Linked DNA regions of Homo sapiens: regions 1 and 2 are each linked to region 3. The links are contacts of gene promoters, found by promoter capture Hi-C in blood cells and fetal thymus (Javierre and others, 2016). All regions are on one chromosome and are shown on one strand. Each heading gives the region's core, a stretch centred on a gene start or on the middle of the fragment in contact. The rest is flanking DNA. Distances are from core to core; before and after follow the strand shown.

Region 1 (3,371 bases), core at 310-2,809, 290 kb before region 3:
AACCAGATGCCATAATGTCTCCCCTCCCCATTCCCCTGCGCCGCCATTTGATAGTACTACTACTACTAATATAACACTTAGCATGTGCCAGGCACTGGTCTAAGCCCTTTCTACTTATTTCTTCATTTAAACTCCATCGCAAGGTAAGTTGCTGTTATTCCTATTTTATGGATGGGGAAGCAGTGGCCCAAGTTGGGGGTTTCTCTAGTGGCTGAGTATTCATAACTAATTTTATATTAATGTAAATATATATTTACATATCTTAACATATTACTTTTATATTAATATATAATATTTTAAAAATTTAACAGTGCCTTGTGCCAGCAATGTTCTAAGGCTCATCCCATAATTTATATTCTCTGATTTTCTTTTGTTTGAGACGGAGTTTCTCTCTTGTCGCCCAAGCTGGAGTGCAATGGCGCGATCTCGGCTGACTGCAACCTCTGCTTCCCGAGTTCAAGCGATTCTCCTGCCTCAGCCTCCCCAGTAGCTGGGATTACAGGCGCCCGCCAACATGCCCAGCTAATTTTTGTATTTTTAGTAGAGACAGGGTTTCACCATCTTGGCCAGGCTGGTCTCCAATTCCTGACCTCAGGTGATCCACCCGCCTCGGCCTCCTAAAGTGCTGGGATTACAGGCGTCATCTGATTTTCATAATAACACATTACTATCCTCATTTTACAGTTGTGGAAACTGAGGCACCTGCCAAAGACATGTAGTGAGTTTGGGTTTGATTGGACCAAGGCAGCCCTTGTTCCTGAGGCGGGGAGAATGGAGGGAGGCGTGGAGAGGGGAGGTGGGGGCAGGGAGTACACGTCCCCTGGGTTTTCTGGTGGCACTGCAGTGACATCTTTCATTATTCATGAACAGGAAGGCGTGCTCACTTTGCCTTGGCTATAGCATCGTAATCCCTATTTGCTGGGCAGGGCAGTCTTGGGTGTTTCTTCGCCTTATGCATAATTCATAAATTGGGTGGAACCTTTCTTGACCTCTCTGAGTTTCCAGGTTGAGCTACTGCAGCAGCATAATTCATTATTCAGGACCTGGGAGAGTGTGTTTTCCCTGCAGCAGCCCCATTTCCCTGCTTACAGTGTATTAGATGCAGCAATAGGCGGGCGTGCCCCTTTTATTCCAACCCACTGGGCCTCATGCATTATTCATGAGTAAGTTGTGGCCTGGGTCTCCTTGGCTTCCGGGCCCCTGCAAGATCATCATTATTCATGAATGGGGGTGTGTGGCTTCCATGTTTTAACATCTGCTTTCTGGTTGCTGGTTGTTAGTCTACCAACCACTCAACTTCATGCATAACTTATAATCAGGAAGCATGGCCTTAACGGTTTTTCTTCGCTTCCTTGACAGCCTGGCTGCAACAATTCATTCATTAGTCGCATTCCATGAGGCGTGGCCTCTGTTTTACCTGTTTTCGTTGTTACTGCCACAATGTCCACCAGGTGGTGCTGTTCCACTTCTAACCGAATGAATCGCAACCGAGTAGGGAACTTTATGCATGATTCATAAGTAGGCGCGGCCCGCTTGCATCCGGGTTTCTGGGGGTGGGGCCCAAGGTTTTGTTCCGGCCCCAGGCTCAGCGTCCGCCATCTTGTGTCGGCGGCTCGGCTGTAAGGAGGTGGCAGGGACAACCACAACCACAACGGCCGGGGGAGGAGAAGGCGGCAGCGGCGATTCTAGGCGGCCCAGGCGGCGGGGAGGAGGAGAAGGAGGAGGGTGGCGGCCGGGCTTGGCTTCGGCTCCTTGAGGAGTTGGCGGCGGCGCGACCCGGGGAACCGGCATTGGTAAAAAAACGTCCTTTCACTGCGCCTCGCCCTGGGCAGGGGTTTCGGGGAGGCACTGGAGGGCCCTGAGCCACGCTGCTGTCGGGGCGGGCCGCGGTGACTCGGGAGCCAGGAATCAGCGGAGTAGGGAGGGGGAGCGGATCCTGGGGCGGGGCCGACTTTCCCCGGCCAGGACCACTCCGGCTCCCTCTGGTTGCAAAATCTGACCTTGGAGTCGGACCCCCAGGATGTGCTTTTAGAGACTCACGCCCAACATCTCTAGTCTGGGACCTGACTCCGTCCCGAACCTTGTATCTCAGATCAGAACTCTTCCCCAGTCTCCAATAGAGATTTACGTGGATCAGCATTGCTGATCAGAGCTCCTCACCATTGAATGCCGTTAAAGACCTGCCCCAGAATCTCCTTTGAGACACTTCCTAGCTTCTCAGTATTTGTCCTCAAGGCTTCCAGGACGGGCTAGATCTCGAAGGGGTCCATAGGCCCTTTATCTCTGTAAGAGAGTCCTCTTTAGCATTTTCCTTCAGACCCCCATCCCACACACATGCTAGCCGCGCTCAGAGCTTCCAGGGGTACTAGACCCTGTGAAAGGCCATTTGGGCCTGGCCTTTGTGTCGGGGGCCCCTCTTCGCCACACGTCAGGTCTCCTAACCCCACCCTGGCCCTAGCATCTTCCATCAGAGACTCTGCCCAGTATTTCTACTCAGAGACCCCTCTTACCATCTGCCTTGAGAGACTCTTCAATTCCTAGACTCTGTCCTTTGACACTTTCTCTACTTTTATGGAATTTCTCGCTTTTTATACTTCCAGTATTCAGAGACTACTGAGAGGCCTCAGCATCTTCCCCATCAGGCACCTTGAACCCCCAGAGCCTTCCAGTGCACCAGATACCAGGGAGGAACTGTTTGGATACATAATCCTCCATCAAAGAGCCCCTGCGAGCATCTGCTCTTGCAGATCCCGTTGGCTTCTAGCCCCTTCCATCAGAGACTCGCCTCCCCAACCCCACCCTAGACCCAGCCTCTGCCTTCAAAAACCAACCTGGGTTCTAGCTGCTTTTTTCACAGATCCCTTATCCTCACATCAGGCCTCAGAATCTGCCCTCAGATCGTTTCAAGGTCCCTAACGTCTGCAGTCAGGGGTTTTCAGCTTCTGCTTTCAGCCTCCTTGGACCCCAGGATCATTGTCAGATGTCCCTTCCCCCCACAGGCCTTCTTGTTTTCTTTTTCTTTTTCTTTTTTCCGAGACAGAATTGTTTCACTATGTCGTCCAGGCTGGAGTGCAGTGGCGCCATCTCAGCTCACTGCAACCTCCACCTCCTGGGTTCAAGCGATTCTCCTGCCTCAGCCTCCCGAGTAGCTGGGATTACAGGCATGCACCACCACGCCTGGCTAATTTTTTGTATTTTTAGTAGAGATGGGGTTTCACCATATTGCCCAGGCTGGTCTCGAACTCCTGACCTCAGGTGATCCACCTGCCTCGGCCTCCCAAAGTGCTGGGATTGCAGGCGTGAGCCACCGCGCCTGGCCATGGCCCTCTTGTTTTCTACTGCAGTAGAAAACCCTCTTCTCAGCATCTACC
Region 2 (3,495 bases), core at 996-3,495, 340 kb before region 3:
TGAAAAAGATGGGAAATGCCGAATGATGGGGAGTCAACTCTGGGAAAGTGTAGATTGGAAAATTGGCATGATTTACTGAAGCTGATTGGTCACATGTCTACGCAATGACTTAGCAATTCCATTCCTAGGTTATATACCCAAGAAATGAGTACATATGTCTATCAAAAGATGTGTACAAGAATGTTCACAGAATTATTCTTAGCCAGGCACAGTGGCTCATGCTTGTAATCCCAGCACTCTGGGAGGCCAAGGTAGGTGGATCACTTAAGATCAGGGGTTTGAGATCAGCCTGGCCAACCTGGTGAAACACTGTCTCTACTAAAAATACAAAAATTAGCTGGGCCTGGTGGGTCACGCCTATAACCCCAGCTACTCGGGAGGCTGAGGCATGAGAATCACTCCAACCCAGGGAGGTGGAGGTTGCAGTGAGCCAAGATCGCACCACTGCACTCCAGCCTGAGCGACAGAGCAAGACTCTGTCTCAAAAGAAAAAAAAATTCTTAATAGCCCCAAATATAAAACAACTCAAATGCTCAGCAACGTAAGAATGGCTAAAGTCTGGTCTGTTCATACAATGAAATGGAATACAGCAATGAGGATGAACAAACTACTCATGTATGTGACGATGTTGATCAGTCTCACAAACGTTGTACAGAATGAAAGAAACTGGACACAAAACCAGACCAAAGTAACCTAACATTGTTAGAAGTCAGGAGAGTGGCTACCTTTGGTGGGGAAGAGGGAAGACCTGAAGGGAGCTTCTGGGGTTTGCCATGTTGTGATTTTTGTTTGTCTTTTTGTTTTTGAGACAGGGTCTCGCTCTGTGGCCCAGGCTGGAGTGTAGTGGCACGGTGCGATCTCGGCTCACTGCAACCTCTGCCTCCTAGGCTCAAGCGATCCTCCCACCTCAGCACCCTTACTAGCTGGGACCATCATGCCTCGCTAATTTTTGTATTTTTTGTAGAGACGAGGTTTCACCATGTTGCCCAGGCTAGTCTCAAACTCCCAAGCTTGAGACACCAGTCTGCCTCTGCCTCTCAAAGTATGTTTCTTGACCTGAGTGCTGGTTATATGGGTGTGCCCAATTTATAAAAAGTAAATGAGCTTTGTGAGCTTTTCTGCATGTGTATTTTAATTCAATGATTTATAAAGAGTCAGTCAGTGTGGCTGGGCCATGATGAGGGAGGGGAAGGTAGTATTGTCAGAATGGGGCCAGGGCTCGGATTTTAGGATTAAGTCTAAGTGCAGCCTTCTGTTTGACCAGAATGGAGGCTTCTGGAGAGCCCTGGAGCTTGATGAGGCAGAGCAGAAGGGAATGAGAAGTGTTCATCCTCAGGGGGGTAAGCCAGAAGGCAAGGATGGGTATGGGATGTCACCTACACAGGAGGTATCAATACCAAATGTTTATCAAGCACATACCATGCCAGTCACTGCTCTAAGTGAACAGAACATATGTGAATACCTGCCCTTCTGGAATTTACATCCTGGTGGGTGGTGAGTGGAGAGAATGTGCTCTCTAGGCACCAGGCTGAGGCTTATTATAGGGGTTATTGCACCAATATACCCAGGTACTTGGTGGCTGGGGTAACATGCCCCTTTCACTTCCATAGTCCCACTAACTGCAGGGGGAGGGTAGAGAGTGCTCCCTTTATACATTAGTACTCTCTGCTTTGGGGTACACTCGAGTTGGGAGACTGGCCCCACAAAGCAGCACTGGGGCAGGGGAAGCCCTCAGGGTCTTCCTCACTTGCAGGAAGGCTCATGCAGATATGGCTCCCGCCTCAGCCACATGTAAGTGGATTTGGGTTCTCCTGAGACCCAGTAGCTAGAAGTAGGGCATTGCCTCTAGTGGTGAATTTGGCAAGCCAGATTTTCTTCCTGTAGCCAGTGGCTGGAGGCTCCCACACCCTCCAAAGCCCCAGGCAGGGACAAGCACAGAGATGGTAGCAATGAATATATGAGGTGGTGATTTGAATGTGGGAGCTGTGGAAGGAAGAGATGCCAAGAGGGTGAAGGGAAGCCCACACTTAACAGAGATGCTTTTGAAAGAAACAAACTCAGCCAGGGCCAGAACAAGTCCCCTACTCCATCTGCCAGACTGAGAGACAGCAACCCTGGTGCAAGGAGACAGCCTATTTCCACAGAGGAAGAAAGTAAGGGAGAAAAGACTTCTTGATTTCGAGACACAGAAAGACAAAGAGAGGAAAGGGGGTGAGGAGAGAAACAGACACACGTGCACACACATACACACACACAGATGCATATCTTGAGTTAGAGGTCATCCAGATTTGGGGCAGAAGGGAATACAGGCATCCAGACTCACCAACACACAGGACAGGGGCAAACCCTAAAGCCCAGAGAGAAGCAGAGAGGACAGGGAGGGGAGACAAAACACCCACCCTTAGAAAGAGAAAGCCCTGCACTCACCCTCCACCTTAATCCCTGGTCTCCCTGGCTTCTCTTCAAACGTAGGAGGTCCCAGTGAGGTGGTCTGGCTCTAAAGATAGCTGCCAACAATTTCTTCCCATGTGCCACGCTGTCATCCAGAGGAGCCCCAAGCCGTCATGTAAGAAGCTGAGGTTAGGCTGGGCACAGTGGCTCATGCCTGTAATCCCAGCACTTTGGGAGACCGAGGCAGGTGGATGACCTACGGTCAGGAGTTCTAAACCAGCCTGGCCAACATGGTGAAACCCCATCTCTACTAAAAATAGAAAAATTAGCTGGGCATGGGGCGGGCGCCTGTAATCCCAGCTACTCGGGAGGCTGAGGCAGGAGAATTGCTTGAACCTCGGAGGCAGAGGTTGCAGTGAGCCGAGATGGTGCCACTGCATTCCAGCCTGGGTGATAAGAGTGAAACTCCTTCTTAAAAAAAAAAAAAAAAAGGCTGGGTACGGTGGCTCACACCGCTAATCCCAGCACTTTGGGAGGCCGAGGCGGGCGGATCACGAGGTCAGGAGATTGAGACCATCCTGGCCAACATGGTGAAACCCTGTCTCCACTAAAAATACAAAAATTAGCCAGGTATGGTGGCGGGCACCTGTAGTCCCAGCTACTCTGGAGGCTGAGGCAGGAGAATCGCTTGAACCCGGGAGGTGGAGATTGCAGTGAGCAGAGATTGTGCCACTGCACTCTAGCCTGGGTGACAGAGCAAGGCTCCATCTCAAAAAAAAAAAAAAAAAAAAAGTCAAGGCTGTTCTGCTGGAGAGAGGCCATATGGAAGAGGACTGAAGTGCCAGACATGTGAGTGAAGAAGCCATCTTAGATACCCAGCCCAGTTGAGCCTTCAGATGACTCCAGTCCCAGCCACCATCTAACTACAACTACCTGAGACCCCTAGAAGAGCCACCTTACTGAGCCCAGTCAACCCACAGGGCCATGAAAGAGAAGACTGAATTGTGGTTTTAAGCCACTAAGTTTTTAGGTGTTTGCTACACAGCAATATACAGCCAGAACACCCAGGGAAGGTTGCAGCAGCCCTTTTAAAGCTTTTGACAC
Region 3 (3,554 bases), core at 386-2,885:
CAGTGAGCCATGATCGTGCCACTGCACTCCATCTCTGGGCGACAGAGTGAGACCCTGTCTCAAAACAAAATAAAACCGAACAGCAGCAACCACAACAAAACATGTGACACGGAGCTAAAGTGTTCTTAGAGAAAAATTTATAAACTGAATGTTTATATTATAAAATAAAATGACTGGATAGTAAGATAAGCATTAAATTCAGGACTTTAAAAATGAGAACAAAATTAAAAAACAGAAAAGAAATAACGAAGTTAAGGGCAGATATTAATGACAGAGAAACAAAGATACAGGAGGACCAACAAAGTCAAAAGTAGGTTTTGAAATAACCTCATCTCAGACCTAAAGACCACCTATCACTGACCCCAGGAAGCTGCATATCTGATTCCACAGCCCCCCATCACTAGTCCCAAAGAAACGCATCACTCACCCAGCAGGAACCTTGGTCAATCACCCAATAAACCCCATCCCACACCTCACAGACCTCCAGTAGTCACCCCGCACAGCCCTTTCTTACCCCCACGGACTTCTCATCACTCATCTCACATATACCTTATCACTCACCCTAGAGACCCTGTATCACTCACCCCACAGACCCCCTTATTATTCACTCCGGTGTCCCCAACACTCATCCCACAGGCTACCCATCAACTTTCTCTAGTGACCCATCACTCACCCACAAACCCCAATCACTCATTCTGCACCTCCCTATAAATGACCCCAGAGAAGCCTCCTTACTCATCCTACTGAGCATCTTCGAGTACAAAATCCATGTCATAACATCCCCATAATTATCTTAATGCTTGATCCATGTCATAACATCTCCATATTTATCTCAATGCTTAAGTGGCCCTAAGTCCGTCTGTTAAACTCACTCCCAGAGCCTTAAGTCCTGAAAACTGCTTCGAGGAACCCCGGCGCTTCTGGACTTGATCTGCACATGCTTAGTGTCAGCTCCGAAGCGGCCGCTCGCCCACAATTACACCTGGTGGGTGCCCTTACACCGCGCCGGTGCGTGCGTGCGCGTGCGCGTGTGCGTCGAAGGAGAGGCGGGCTTTCCAATTTCCTTCAGTGACTCTCAGGCAAGGAACATGGCTGTCTCCTTGGGAGTGTCTCTACGGGAGCCGCCATCTTGGAAGGGCGGTCATTTCTGCCGCGGAGCCCGCGGTCCCCTACTCGATATACCCCTGTGGGATTTTCCAGTGGCCGAGGCACTGGGCCATGGAATGTACCACCAGGCTTCTCCCCTCCGCCGCAGCCTCTAGGAGTTAGTCACCTCCGAGGCCCCGGCGGGCGAGGCGCTTTGCCTCTTCCGCCCTCAGGGTGCCCTCGGCCTCAGGCCGTCCCTACCGGGGAGCCTCCGCCTCTTTAAATATCGCCCAGCCCCCACCCCCAGGAGCAGGTCGCGAGACGCACCCGCCCCCGCCCCTGCCGCCGCACTGCTCTGTGGGACGCGGCGACCCCTCTCCCGCGGCGGCCGGGACCCCGCGCCCACCGCGTCTGGAGCCCACCTGGCGGCCCCACTGGCTACATTTCCGACCTGGACCCCGGCCGGCTGCGGGAAACACTCGGCGTCTCGGCTGTCACCGAACCTGTGCAGTTGCCGCGGGGGGAGTCGTGCGTGTCAGATTTAGGCCAGGAAGCGGAAGTCGCCAGCAGCGAGAGTTTAACCTCTGTGGGCGCAGAGGGTTGCGGGGATTCAGCGCCCGGGACCGTGGATCTGTGCAGGGAGTCATAGGTGTGTGTGACATCAGTGGTGGAACATTTTGGCTCGTTTTCACAATTCAGTCATTATCCTTTCTGCTTTCCTCCTGGAAGCATTAAGGTTGAAGTTTTCTTCTAAAGATCAAAGTTTTGATTTGTTATATTAGTTCGGATTTGTTTGATTTTTGTTTGTGTTCGGTTTCAAGTGCTGATTTGTAACTTTTCTCCCCCCCCCACACACGCCTTTTGACCCCTGAATTATTTAAAAGTCCATTGTTGGAGTGGCAAACATCCTCCGAGACTCAAAGGGCAAGGCCATGGGCGCTTTATTCCGGCTGCTGCTCCAGGAACGTGGGAAAGCAGCGGAGTTTTATTCTAGGGGAAGGAAACAAAGGCGGCCGAGTGCCAGCTGCACGTTTGGTGGGATTTGGTCATCAGGGGTGGACATGCTGCCCAATGGAGCTGTCGGCAGTTTGACCCAGCTTGGTCCGTCGCGTCCTGTTCTAGGAATCGATTATTCAAAGAAGGAATTTAGAGGGACTGCAGAAAATGTTACAGGTCTTAACACCATTTTGCATTTCCGCAAACGAACAAGAAGTTAATCCCTGTGTTAGTGATTTCTAAGCCCATTTGCCTTGTGGCCCAAGAACGTTGAGTTTGAAATTTGATGAAACTTGCCTTAAGGCTCAAGTACGAGGCCAGCTTTCAAAAATGGTTTTGTGCCTTGATTGAAAACACTGTATCTTCTAGTTGTTGGATTTATCGTACTCTGCGGCTCTATTGGTTCAAGCTTGTGCGTTGGGCCTTTTAAAATGTGTGTTTCCTGATAATTCCCTTCAGCTTGTCAACTGGGGGTGATGTGGCAGGGAGAAAGAGAGAGAGGAGAGAGAGAGACTGTACTGGCAGGTTTTCCTTGTGCTATTCAATTTTTGCTTCCTATGTTTTGAAGTTTTATTATTAACTGCAGGTTTCATTACTGAATAGATATAGCCAAATTCCTTCCCCCAAAAGATTATAAAGTTTCCTAGTCCTACCAGCAAAATCATTAAGTTCATTAAGGCAAATCCCCTCCAGCGCTGGATGTTGATGCTGTCTTTAATTTTGTATTTTTCTGACTACTTTGTGCAATTGAGGATTGTTTTGGTCTATTGGCCATTTGGCTTTTCTCTTTTGCAAATGTTCATATCCTTTGTCCAGTTTTCTTTAGGGTGATTTTTCCTTTTCGTATCAATTTGTAAACAGTGTACAAATTACATTGTACATTAGGGATATTAACAGTCTGTCAGTTACACTGTACATTAGGGATATTACATTAGAGATATTAACATCTTTGTCCATTAAGGATATTAACCATCTGTCAGTTACATTGCAGTATTTTTCCCTAAACTCTTTTTGTCTTTTGCATTTTATGTTTTTTTAAATGTGCAATTAGAAAAATTTTATATGGGCTGGGCACAGTAATCCCAGCACCCATCTCTACTAAAAATAAAAAAAAAAATAGCCAGGCGTGGTATCTCAACTAAAAAAAAAAAAAAAAATTGCCGGGCATGGTGTTGGGCGCTTGTAATCCCAGCTACTCGGGAGGTTGAGGCAGGAGAATCGCTTGAACTTGGGAAGTGGAGATTGCAGTGAGCTGAGCTCGGGCCACTGCACTCCAGCCTGGGTGATAGAGCAAGACTTCATCTCAAAAAAAAAAAAGAAAGAAAAATTGTATGTGTAATATGTAACTAGTGAAATGTAGCCTCTGATCAGATATGTCTAAACTTTCTTTTATGGCTTTTGTATATCCCATCTTGCCTAGTTTCACTTCCCTATTCCAGATAGAAAGATAATCTTAACATGTATTTCAGTGT

What was found. The method cuts DNA at HindIII sites, captures the fragments that hold promoters and counts their contacts. A CHiCAGO score of 5 or more calls a contact.
Region 1: a contact is called between a fragment that was not itself captured here and the fragment with the promoter of ZNF41 in region 3, in 17 of 17 cell types (fetal thymus, naive CD4 T cells, non-activated CD4 T cells and 14 more). The highest score is 18.4, in fetal thymus.
Region 2: a contact is called between a fragment that was not itself captured here and the fragment with the promoter of ZNF41 in region 3, in 2 of 17 cell types (non-activated CD4 T cells and monocytes). The highest score is 5.5, in non-activated CD4 T cells.

What each region holds. Positions count from the first base shown.
Region 1 is chrX:47,192,232-47,195,602 of GRCh38, forward strand. It overlaps UBA1 (ubiquitin like modifier activating enzyme 1), which reads left to right and starts at 1,598. Exons shown (of 26, transcript NM_003334.4): 1 at 1,598-1,793. RefSeq lists silencers at 1,438-1,626, 1,721-1,870 and an enhancer at 1,501-1,680. The HindIII fragment of the contact is 5,053 bases long and covers 1-3,371 here.
Region 2 is chrX:47,138,678-47,142,172 of GRCh38, forward strand. No RefSeq gene overlaps it. Among named protein-coding and RNA genes, the nearest start is that of NDUFB11, 4.3 kb to the right of the region's middle. The HindIII fragment of the contact is 2,475 bases long and covers 1,009-3,483 here.
Region 3 is chrX:47,481,587-47,485,140 of GRCh38, forward strand. It overlaps ZNF41 (zinc finger protein 41), which reads right to left and starts at 1,636. Exons shown (of 5, transcript NM_001324144.2): 1 at 1,509-1,636. LINC01560 (long intergenic non-protein coding RNA 1560) reads left to right here and starts at 1,130. Exons shown (of 1, transcript NR_126059.1): 1 at 1,130-3,554. RefSeq lists an enhancer at 1,071-1,370 and a silencer at 1,361-1,650. The HindIII fragment of the contact is 4,892 bases long and covers 1-2,489 here.